4 separate regions of the Homo sapiens genome follow, and all the other regions are linked to region 1. The links are contacts of gene promoters, found by promoter capture Hi-C in blood cells and fetal thymus (Javierre and others, 2016). All regions are on one chromosome and are shown on one strand. Each heading gives the region's core, a stretch centred on a gene start or on the middle of the fragment in contact. The rest is flanking DNA. Distances are from core to core; before and after follow the strand shown. Region 1 holds the start of MATN3 (matrilin 3). Region 2 overlaps PUM2 (pumilio RNA binding family member 2). Region 3 overlaps PUM2 (pumilio RNA binding family member 2). Region 4 overlaps PUM2 (pumilio RNA binding family member 2).

Evidence for each region. The method cuts DNA at HindIII sites, captures the fragments that hold promoters and counts their contacts. A CHiCAGO score of 5 or more calls a contact.
Region 2: a fragment that was not itself captured here is called in contact with the fragment with the promoter of MATN3 in region 1 in 1 of 17 cell types (M2 macrophages); the score reaches 5.2 in M2 macrophages.
Region 3: a contact is called between a fragment that was not itself captured here and the fragment with the promoter of MATN3 in region 1, in 1 of 17 cell types (M2 macrophages). The highest score is 5.0, in M2 macrophages.
Region 4: a contact is called between a fragment that was not itself captured here and the fragment with the promoter of MATN3 in region 1, in 5 of 17 cell types (M2 macrophages, M1 macrophages, M0 macrophages and 2 more). The highest score is 10.6, in M2 macrophages.

The regions. Positions count from the first base shown.
Region 1 is chr2:20,011,229-20,013,928 of GRCh38, forward strand. It overlaps MATN3 (matrilin 3), which reads right to left and starts at 1,440. Exons shown (of 8, transcript NM_002381.5): 1 at 1,181-1,440. The coding sequence starts at 1,403. RefSeq lists an enhancer at 544-1,156. The HindIII fragment of the contact is 3,809 bases long and covers 1-2,700 here.
Region 2 is chr2:20,304,812-20,307,511 of GRCh38, forward strand. The region is part of intron 7 of PUM2 (pumilio RNA binding family member 2); the gene reads right to left. Among named protein-coding and RNA genes, the nearest start is that of PUM2, 45 kb to the right of the region's middle. The HindIII fragment of the contact is 2,974 bases long and covers 1-2,700 here.
Region 3 is chr2:20,334,231-20,336,930 of GRCh38, forward strand. All of the region lies in intron 1 of PUM2 (pumilio RNA binding family member 2), which reads right to left. Among named protein-coding and RNA genes, the nearest start is that of PUM2, 15 kb to the right of the region's middle. The HindIII fragment of the contact is 1,234 bases long and covers 679-1,912 here.
Region 4 is chr2:20,286,504-20,289,203 of GRCh38, forward strand. The region is part of intron 10 of PUM2 (pumilio RNA binding family member 2); the gene reads right to left. Among named protein-coding and RNA genes, the nearest start is that of SDC1, 63 kb to the left of the region's middle. The HindIII fragment of the contact is 1,134 bases long and covers 869-2,002 here.

The DNA.
Region 1 (2,700 bases), core at 190-2,689:
ATCTCTCCTTCCTCTTCCAGTCCCATCCCAGAGGGAGGCAGGTCAGGACTAGAGTAAGATTAACTTCCAGAAGAAAGGCTTTCCCTCAATTCCCGGCCTGGAGCAACCAGCCACCAGCTGAATCTAGCCCTGTGGACCCCGGTACCTCCTGCCTTAGCAGCAATGCTTTTGCCATTTCAAATCTGCCACTTCAAATACGGGGACTGAGTATTTGAGTCAGGAAAGAGTCCCTTGAGCTCCTTCTCAGCTTATCCAGAAAGATGCAGAAGGGGATAGACAATTGAAATCAGCCTGAGGCATGCAGCGTGGCTGGCCAAATGAGACTGCATACCCAGAAATGGCCTGGCACAGACTCTTTTTAGCAAGACTGAAGCTGCGCTTTTTGGAAATGAAGATACAATCTTATGTAAACCATATTAAGAGGTTGGTAGGCTGGGGCAGTGGAAAGAGACCTTGCTTGGGATTTCGGAGCCCTGAATTTTATTGTGGCCTCTGATACTGATTCACAGAGTCCCTTCAACTTGATATGCCTCAGTTTCCCTTCATGTGCTGTCAGGGGCTGTGTCAGACGACCTGCCCGCTTCGCTGCACTATGAGCTTTGCTCTGCTTCAGGAATCAATTGCTGACCAAAAAGAGAAATAGAATTGTTCGCCAAAGACCCAGAGTGTCTTGATCCTGGGGTATCCTACGGCTCCTCGGATCTCCTCCTGGTCTCACACCCGCATCCCTTACCTTCCAGTCTGAGGCAGCCTGAGGACTGTGGGAGGGGAGGAAAGATCACGCCCTGATATTGGATGGAGATGGAGAGATTCCAAGAGAACTAACAGCAGAGTCTCAGGAAGGGTTTGCTCACTGAATGGAGAGGTCAGGACTGGGACGGAGCTTAGCAGCAGCCGCTGGGCAGCAGCCCCTGCGCTCCCCAGCTGCCCTGTGCTCCTGGCCGAATCACAGGGGAGTGAGAGCTTCAGGAGACCCACATCTCTAGCCTGGACACATGAGTGATATTGGGCATCTCCCTCCCCTTCTCTGGACCTCAGTTTCCCCCACAGGATTCATCCGGGAGGGGCCTCTTTCCCCCGCACCACGGTCGGCCTGAGGCCGGGATGAAGCGCGCTTGGTGGATGCCCTGGGCTTCTCCTCGTTCGATGCTCACGCGTCCCTCCCGCCGCCCGCCTGTACCTGCACCGCGGGCGCGGCCAGGCTCGCTGGTCCCGGAAGCGGGCGCGCCGTCGGGAGCCGCAGGAGAGGGGCGGCGTCCAGGGCTGCCCCCGGGACCTCGGGTCTCCAGCCTCCGGAAGCCCGGGCGGGCCACGGGGTCGGGGGCGGCGGAGGGCAGCAGCAGCAGCGGCCAGAGCAGCAGGAGGAGTCCCGGGAGGCGGCGCGCGGGGGCCGGGCGCGGCATGGTGGGCTCCGTGGGCCTGGTGGTGTCCGTCGGGGGCCAGGAGCCCACGCGAGGCTCGGATTTAAAGGTCCCGCGGCCTCGGGCCCCGCCCCGCCCCGGGGCCTCGAGCGCCAGGCCGGCCCGGCGAACCCCGCCCAAGGCCAACAAGGAGCCTTGTCCGCGCATTCCAGCGGCAGAAACGGAATGTCTGGGCGAGGCGGCCAGCGGCGCGGTGGTCACCTCCCGCCCCTGCCCTAAGCCCCGAGCCGGCTGCAACTGGGTGGGCTCGGCTGCTGTCGCAACCTCCGTCCTCCCAGTAACACCGGGGCAGGGGGGGCAGCCATCCGCGGCTGCAGCCTGCCCGGCCCTCCACTCTCCCTCCCACCCCAGCGGGGCCTGCGCCCCAGGTACGGGATGGGGACCCCTGGGCTCTGCTTTCCCTTCTGCCACTGGTTTGCCCGACTGGGGCTGAAGATGAAACCCTGCTCCTAGCTCTACATTCCTTTCCTCAGCCAAGTAACCCAAGTTTTGCTGTGGGCTCTTGTTTAAAAAAAAAAAAAGAAAGAAAAGGCCTCACAGATTCTAGGGGCATGAATAGAAACGCTTTCATCCGAGCTTCAAATATCCACAAACATTTGAACTTATATTACCGGGAATAGAAAGTCAAACATACATTCCCCAGAGAGCCCCGTTAGCTGGAAGGACAGCCTGTACCAACACAGGCTTCAAAGGCTCTCCCGAGGCCCCATTTCCTCTCCGGAAGAGTTAGCATGGTACAGGGCTGGAGGCTGCCAGGGGACCCCCATGGAACTCACTGTCTGTGAGAAGGAGATTTGCATAAATGTGGTGTCTGTCTACGGGAATGTGGTGGATTTAGGAAAGAGATACTGACTGCCTGCGGAGACCAGGAAGACTTCTAAAACCAGGTGACATTTGAGCTGCGTCTTAAAACAATGGGCGCGAGTTCCAACAGAGCCTATCTGGTCGTCCTATTTCACTATTTTCCCTCTACAAGTGATCCTCCTCACACGATCCTAAACCTCACTTCTCATATTTGTACCCCATGCTGGTAGCAGCATTATACACAATAGCCAAGAGGCGGAAACAACCCAAGTGTCTCTCTTTGTGTGAATGGAAAAGCAAAATGCAGTATCTACGTACAATGGAATACTGTTCAGCCTTAAAAGGGAGGAAATTTTGGCAGATGCTACAAAATGGATGAACCTTGAGAGTATTATGTTAAGTGAAATAAGCTAGTCACAAAAAGACAAATACTGTATGATTCCATTTACATGGGGAATCTAGAGTAGTCAAATTC
Region 2 (2,700 bases), core at 36-2,535, 290 kb after region 1:
CTACATTTTGCAATATTTTGGATATGAGCTAAATAAAATATTCAAATTAATTTCACCTATTTTTTAATTTTTAAAAATGTGATTACTAAATAACTGCAAATTATATGGTACATATTATACATATTTCTATCGACTAGTCCTTTTCTAAATGAGCTATTGGCCAGCTAAGAGGTGACCAGGCAAATTTGGATAAAAAAGATTGTCAATAATGAATTTGCTTAACTGTGGAATTGAGTTAAAATGTGGGGTCAATTTTGATACACTATGCTTTCTAGGTTTTCAAATTTATTTATATTAGGTTTCTCACACATGAAAGTTCTGCCACATCTTTAAAGATTACGTAAGTCCAATATTATTAAAATACTCTAAGGCATTAAAATAAGAAAGAAATGGCTGGGCGCAGTGGCTCATGTCTATAATCCCAGCACTTTGGGAGGCTGAGTCAGGTGGATTACTTGAGCCCAGGAGTTCGAGACCAGCCTGGACAATAGGGTGAATCCCCGTCTCTACAAAAAATTCACTGGGCATCATGGCTCGAGCCTATAGTCCCAAGCTATGTGGGAGGCTGAGATGAAAGGATTGCTTCAGCCTGGGAAGCTGAGGCTGTACCACTGCACTCCAGTCTGGGTGACAGAGTAAGACCCTGTCTTCGAAAAAAAAAAAAAAAAAAAAAAAAAGACGTATCTAAAATTATTTTTGTGAAGCAAGAATGCTGACACTAAAAAACGTGAAAAAACTGCAGATACACAGAGACTAATTTCATCTAACTATATAGATGCAAAAATCCTAAATGAAATACTAGCAAATTGAAAGAGTATGTTAAAAGAAATAATTATTATATACAAGTCTTTTTTATTCCAAGAATGGGAAGACGATTCAACTATTTTAAAATATCATTCATGAAATCTGATATATGGTACTTGAGTTTTCATAGATAACACTTTAAAGCTACAATGAAAGACAGGAAGAAAGCCATTTACAATAACAAAACATAAAATACATAAAATAAACTTAGAATGAAATATGCAAACCCCTATGAGAAAAATTTTAAAGCACTCAAATGACACTACAGTAAACTTGAACAAAAATAAAGACACATCACACCCTGGACAAGAATACTTGATGTCAGCAGGGCACGGTGGCTCACGCCTGTAATCCCAGCACTTTGGAAGGCCGAGGTGGGTGGATCACTTGAGCTCAGGACCAGCCTGGGCAACATGGTGAAACCCTGTCTCTACAAAAAATTTGCCAGGTGTGGTGGCGTGCACCTGTGGTCCCAGCTACTCGGGAGGCTGCGGCGAGAGGATCACTTGAGCCTGGGAGGCAGCAGTTGCAGTGAGCCAAGACTGCACCACTGCACTCCAGCCTGGGTCAAACAACAAGACCTCCTTGTCAAAGAAACAACAACAAAAACAATAACAACAAAAAAAACCTGATGCTTGATGGCATAAAGATGTCAAATTTCCCTAAGTAAATTACAACATTTAATCCTATCTTCTGGAAGTAGATAAGCTAATTTTGAAGTTCATACAAAAAAGCAAATAAGCAAGAACCAAAAACTTAAAACCCCAAAAAAGAAGAGTAATAGATGTATTAGCCTGCCTAATAATATAAAGCCTCGAGAAATAAAAACCGTTGTGCTGTCCATGAATAGACAGGTAGCAGTACATTTCTAACATAAGAGGACAAACAAGGGATAAAGCGGGTGGGGAAAAAAGGAAAGAGAGGCAAAAAGAGGAAAGAAACGGGGCCAGAGTACATGCTGCGACTGGCACTCACCTATAAATGTGGACTTTTTTTTTTTTTTTTTTTTCTTGAGCGGAGTCTCTCTCTGTCACCCAGGCTGGAGTGCAGTGGTGCAATCTTGCTTCACTGCAGCCTCCGTCTCCCAGGTTCAAGCGATTCTCTGCCTCAGACACCCAAGTAGACGGGATTACAGACCCCCACTGCTAAGCCCAGCTAATTTTTGTAATTTTGTAGAGACGGGGTTTCACCATGTTGGCCAGGATGGTCTCAAACTCCTGACCTCAGGTGATCCACCTGCCTCAGCCTCCCAAAGTGCTGGGATTTCAGGATGGCGCCACTGTGCAGCCTGACATTTTTGATGAAAACAAAAAATAGGCCAGACGCGGTGGCTCACACCTGCAATCCCAGCACTTTGGGAGGCCGAGGGGGGGCTGATCACCTGAGATCCGGAGTTCAAGACCAGCCTGGCCAACATGGTAAAACCCCCGTCTCTACTAAAAATACAAAAATTAGCCAGATGTGGTGGCAGACGCCTGTGATCCCAGCTACTCAGAAGGCTGAGGCAGGAGAATCTCTTGAACCCAGAAGGCGGAGGCTGAAGTGAGCCGAGATTGCCCCACTGTACTCCAGCCTGGGTGAGAGTGAGACTCTCTCTCCAAAATAAACAAACAAAAAAACTGAAAAATAAAAATTAGGGCTTAGGAAGCCTTATTGCACTAACACAGAAGAATATGACATTAAGGAAAGACAACCCCCTTCCATAGACTCTGATGTTGACAGTCTTCATACAAACTTAGACAAAATCAGACAGGCATAAAAATGTTTACACAAATCTACACCTGATAAAATAAAATAAAACTATACATACATACTGCATCAATATCATATTACTGTTTTTGATACTGTACTGTAATAATTTAAGTGTAGCCATTAGGGGGAACTGGGTAAAGGGTA
Region 3 (2,700 bases), core at 46-2,545, 320 kb after region 1:
GAGTCTGGGAGGTCAAGACTGCAGTGAGCCATGGTCCGCTCCACTGCACTCCAGATTGGGTGACAAAGCAAGACTCTGTCTCAAAAAAATTTTTTAAATTAAAAATATTATTTCTTCCTGGATATCTGGTTCAATTTCTTACCATATGCCTACATTAAAAACAGGGTGGGGAAAGCATTTGGAGATACAATAAATGGTATTAAAGCACTCTACTGCCACATGGTACTAATCACACTTTTATAATCTTGTAATTATAAATTAACACCATAGTAGAAATTAACCTCTGGGGTCAAAGGGATTAGTGACTGTCTTAGCTATGTAAACGTTCAACATTTAATGAATGAAAAAAACCATATTTTATGAAATGTGAATTCCGATCATAAAATCAATTAGTATCTGGATAGTGACTAAGTATTTACATATCTTCATATATTAACATACAATGCTTATTTTAACATAAGGACAATGAACAAGGCTTTCGCTTAGACTTTTTGTACTGCTGAAGACATTTACCAACACAAAATGACTAATGATTGCAACTTCACACAGGCACTACTTCTCCAAGTCTGTCATCTACAGCCTGGAGACTGTACCTTCCTTTTGCATCAATTACAAAGACAACAAAATTACATAAAAACCTAGTTGAGTCACAAATAAGTCAATACACAGAGTGACTTAAGCTTCTTAGGACATATTCTCCGTAATCATCCTCCTTGGACTGTTTTGTTTTTTTTTGAGACAAGGTCTCACTCTATCACCGAAGCTAGAGTACAGTGGGGCAATCATAGCTCTCTGCATCCTCTCACCTCAGTCTCCGGGAGTATCTGGGACTAAAGGTGCATGCCACCACCCCCAGCAAATTTTTGTATTTTTTGTAGAGACAGGGGTCTCCCTATGTTGCCTAGGCTGGTCTCAAACTCCTGGGCTCAAGCAGCCCTCCTGCCTCAGCCCCTCAAAGTGCTAGGATTAAAGGTGTGAGCCACTGCACCCAGCTGGACTGATTTTAATGAACATAATCATTGAACATCCGTGGTATCTACGGCAAACAAACAAGTGCTGAATTCCTAAAGAATACTTTCTTCTGCTCAGCAAATTAAATCACTTTATTGCAAATCTGCCAACAAACTTTTTTTGTTTAGCAATGCTTTTTCTCATTCACATGACAAAAGTAAATCTAAATCCAGGTTTAGGTATTTATAGGAGACCATTAGCCTTTAAAGATTTAACAAAGTTTCTACTATTCAAACCAACTCTTGGTAATTTCTTATTTTTCTGAGGGCATAAATTGAATCATACAGTTTTTCAGTGACGAACAAGTCACTTAGCTAGTGGGTCAACCAAGAGCTAAATCAACAGTCTGTTTTCTAGTTTGTCCAAATACTTTCATGGGGGAGTTACCTCTGCTGGCTTTACTAGCAAGGCAAAAAAGCTCTATAACAAAGAATAGTATTACTGACTCAATTATAATAAGGAAAAGTAAAGTTTTATGTTTTGAATGAAATTTGGCATAAAAATTAGTGTTGTCAACATACAGACTTACAGAAGCCAAAAATCTCCTTCAAAGACCCTATTAGCTCAAAGCTCAAATCTTTTAATGTTTTATTCCAACCCCATCATTTAGACAAATCTATATATGTGCAAACATAAGATTTTTGTTCCATTAAAATTCTCTGAAAGGGGAATCACCATATATTTGGGTCCTTACAAAAGTTTCTCCTCTTATAAGGCATCCTCTCAACTGACTTATTTGGAGAATCAAAATACTGCTGAAGAAAAGTTGCCTTATTTTGAAAAATATACTACTTAGATAAGATCTACACACTAAACAGCCTCAATCTATGCTGGGTTTTGATGCTTTAGGTATTGTCTGAGAGAAGCAGGTCAAATAATTTAGATGGAAATGAAGATGACAAGCTTTAGAAAACTGTTTACATAACACAAAAAGCGTTTTTTTGTTTTTTTGTTTGTTTTTTTTTGAGGCAGGGTCTCACTATTGCCCAGGATGGAGTGCAGTGGCATTGATTATGGCTCACTACAGCCTTGACCTCCTGGGCTAGTGATCCATCTACTCAGTATCCTAAGGAGCTGGGACTACAAATGCATACCACTATGCCCAACTAATTTTTGTATTTTTTGTAGAGACAGGGTTTTGCCATGTTGCCCAGGCTGGTCTTGAACTCCTGAACTCAAGTGATCTGCACCTTGCCTTGGCCTCCCAAAATGCTAGCATTACAGGAATGAGCCAATGTGCCTGGCCTAAAAAGTGGTTCTAAAGTTAAAGATATAATTTTTTTTTTTTTTAAAGAGACAGGGTCTTGCTCTGTTGCCCAAGATGGAGCACAGTGACGTAATCAGGGTTCACTGCAGCCTTGACCTCCCAGGCTCAAGGGAACCTCCCAACTCCGCCTTCTGAGTAACTGGGACCACAGGTGCCACCAGGCCTGGCTAATTTGTGTGTGTGTGTGTGTGTGTGTGTGTGTGTTACAGACGGGGTCTCACCATGTTGCCCAGGCTGATCTGTGTGTGTGTGTGTGTGTGTGTGTGTGTGTGTGTGTGTGTGTGTGTGTGTGTGGTACAGACGGGGTCTCACCATGTTGCCCAGGCTGATCTGGAACTCGTGAGTTCAAGTAATCCTTCCACCTCGGCCTCCCAAAGTGCTGGGATTACAGGCATAAGTCACCACACCTGGCCTAGTATTCC
Region 4 (2,700 bases), core at 186-2,685, 280 kb after region 1:
CTTTTCCTGTTATTGGTTATTTATGCCTTCTCTGTTTTGATGAGTCTCTGAGGTTATCAACTTTATTGTCTTTTCAAAGAGGTGGTCAACTTCATTGTCTTCAAAGTAATTTCCGGGATAATTATTTTGTTTATTACTTTTCATTCATATCAGCTCCTATTTTTATTATTTGCTTCCTTCTACATTCTTTGGTTTTATTCTCTCTCTTTTTTTTAGAGTTTCTGGATAAATGCTTAACTCATTCATTTCCAGCCTAATTTTCTAATGTAATCATTAAAACCTATATATTCTCTATGCTATGTTTTTGTTCTAATCCACAAGTTTAAATATGCAGCATTTTCACTGTAATTCTGTTCAAAAGTTGCTAATTTCCATTCTTTTTGTCTATGGCCATACAACCCTGATCGTGCCTGATCTCATCTGAATTATCTTTTTGCTACTGAGAAAGTCTGTGACTGGTTAGATGAATGTATGAAGAGTGGGAAAAGGAAAAAAAAACGACGTAGGGAAGAATGAAGACAAGACATGGGGAATTGAAAAACAAAAACAAAAAAACATGGTCCTCGTACTCAAGAATTATGCAATCTAGCACAGGAGGAAACACACCCCTTCTTAATTCTAAAATGCCATTTACTTTAACATATGACATAGATCTAACAACTTCCCTTCAGAGAAACAAAACTCTCTAAGACATTTCCCATCTACGACCACATTAAAATAAGAGTTGTAGAATGGTGAAAATAAACCACAAATAGCTAAATGAAATGCAAGGCACACAGAAGTACTAAAAGAAGATGCAAGTAATATACCAAAGAGAGCAGACAAGGGAGTAATTATCAATGAATGAGCACTGGGAAAGATTGAGGAAAGCTTCATGAAAGGGACCATATTAAAAGATGAGAAGGATAGTTAATCACAAAATGTTTATGGGCTGAAATTTTAAAAAGCAAGAACTATATACACCAATTTTGTTTAAAATTTATAAAGGGGTATTTTAAGCTAGAAAAAAAAAGAACATGAGCTAGGACTAGAGGCATAGAAGTGCATGGTATGTTTGGGTAACAGTATATGGTCTAGTGCATTAAAGCACAGGACTATGAAGGAAGTTGAGAGATTTGGTAGGCCCATAATCTCAGCACTTTGGGAGGCCAAGGCAGGAAAATTGCTTGAGGCCAGGAGTTCAAGACCAGTCTCGCAACACAGACACTGTCTCCATAAAAATAAAAATGACCATGAGACAGAATGGTAGAGAATTGGCAAGTTATTGGATGTGGAGGCACAGAAGAAAACCAATAGTTAAAGGTAACTTTGAAGTTGCAGCCAAGAGTTTCTAGTTCTAGAGAAAGTAAAGTGAAACAAGGTAAACAGTAGACAGGAAAATTTGGAAATGTGAGTTCATTTTCTGACATTTTCAATTTGAGGAGTGCCTGCAACATAAAAGTAGAAATGTCTGGTATAAGGACAGACATGTATTAGGTGTTCAGAAAAGAATCCAAGATGCAGATGTAAATTCACAGGGATAATAGTTGAAAGGATTAATGCAAATATACTCTCCTGAGGAATAAGTCTAAAGTATCTCCACTTTTCCTATCTGAAACGAAAATTCAAAAAGGAAAATAACTTGGGCACGGTTAAACAATAGCTATGTGGTGGAAATACAGCAAATCTGACTCTGAAGAAGGCAGCCATTAAGCCAGACTGTCTTTTATATTTAAGGATATACATAGAGGAAGCAGAGACTGATAAAAAAGCAATGAGAGGTGAAAAGGCTATGAGTGAAATACCACTCCGCAGAAAAGAGTTACAAAGAGTTGGACACAGTCAACAGGGTGAACTGCAACAAACTGAGCATAAAAAAAGATACAGAGGAAATTATACTTTGTAACTGTCACTAAGTTATATTAGAGATACTGCAAAGGAATTATAGAGGCAGAATTTAAAAGTTATGGGATAGAGTATAAATTTTGACAAATAGTCCATGAGGGAAGCAGAGCAGAGATAAAGCTTTTTAGGATGAACAGGCAGAATAGCACAGTGGGGTTGAAAGGAAGGATTGGGAGAGGGAAAGACTAAAGATTCAAGACGGAAAAACAATAGCACACAGGATATAAAGCAGAAGAGTTAAGAATAGAACAGTAACTAGGGATCTGATAAAGTACTGAAGAAAGCTAGAAAGAAGAGCTAAAGTATGAGGCCTGAAGGAACATCGATTTTCTCAAGTGAGCCCTTTTTAGTATACACATTAGCTTTATAACTATGTAACTATTTGGATATGGAAAATGAGAATTATTTCATCATCATAGTCTGGGCACAATGAAGTAAAGAAGGCATCAAAGAAAGTTTTAGTGTGAGGGGATCATGTGAACAGCCCAAAAGTCACTGAAACATACAAATACAAATCCTAGTAAGGCCCTTCTTATGAGAGTGGTTTTTTCGTTTGTATTTCTAAAAAGGCTAAAAAGTTGTGGCTCAAAAGATTAAGTAATCCACTTTAAGACATGTTGTGTGGCTGGGCGTGGTGGCTCACATCTGTAATCCCAGCACTTTGGGAGGCCAAGGTGGGTGGATCATGAGGTCAGGAGTTCAAGACCAGCCGGCCAATATGGTGAAGCCCCGTCTCTACTAAAAATACAAAAGAAAAAAAAAAGTTGGGTGTGGTGGCACGTGCCTAAGAAATGAGTAATAGGGCCAGCATCAAGA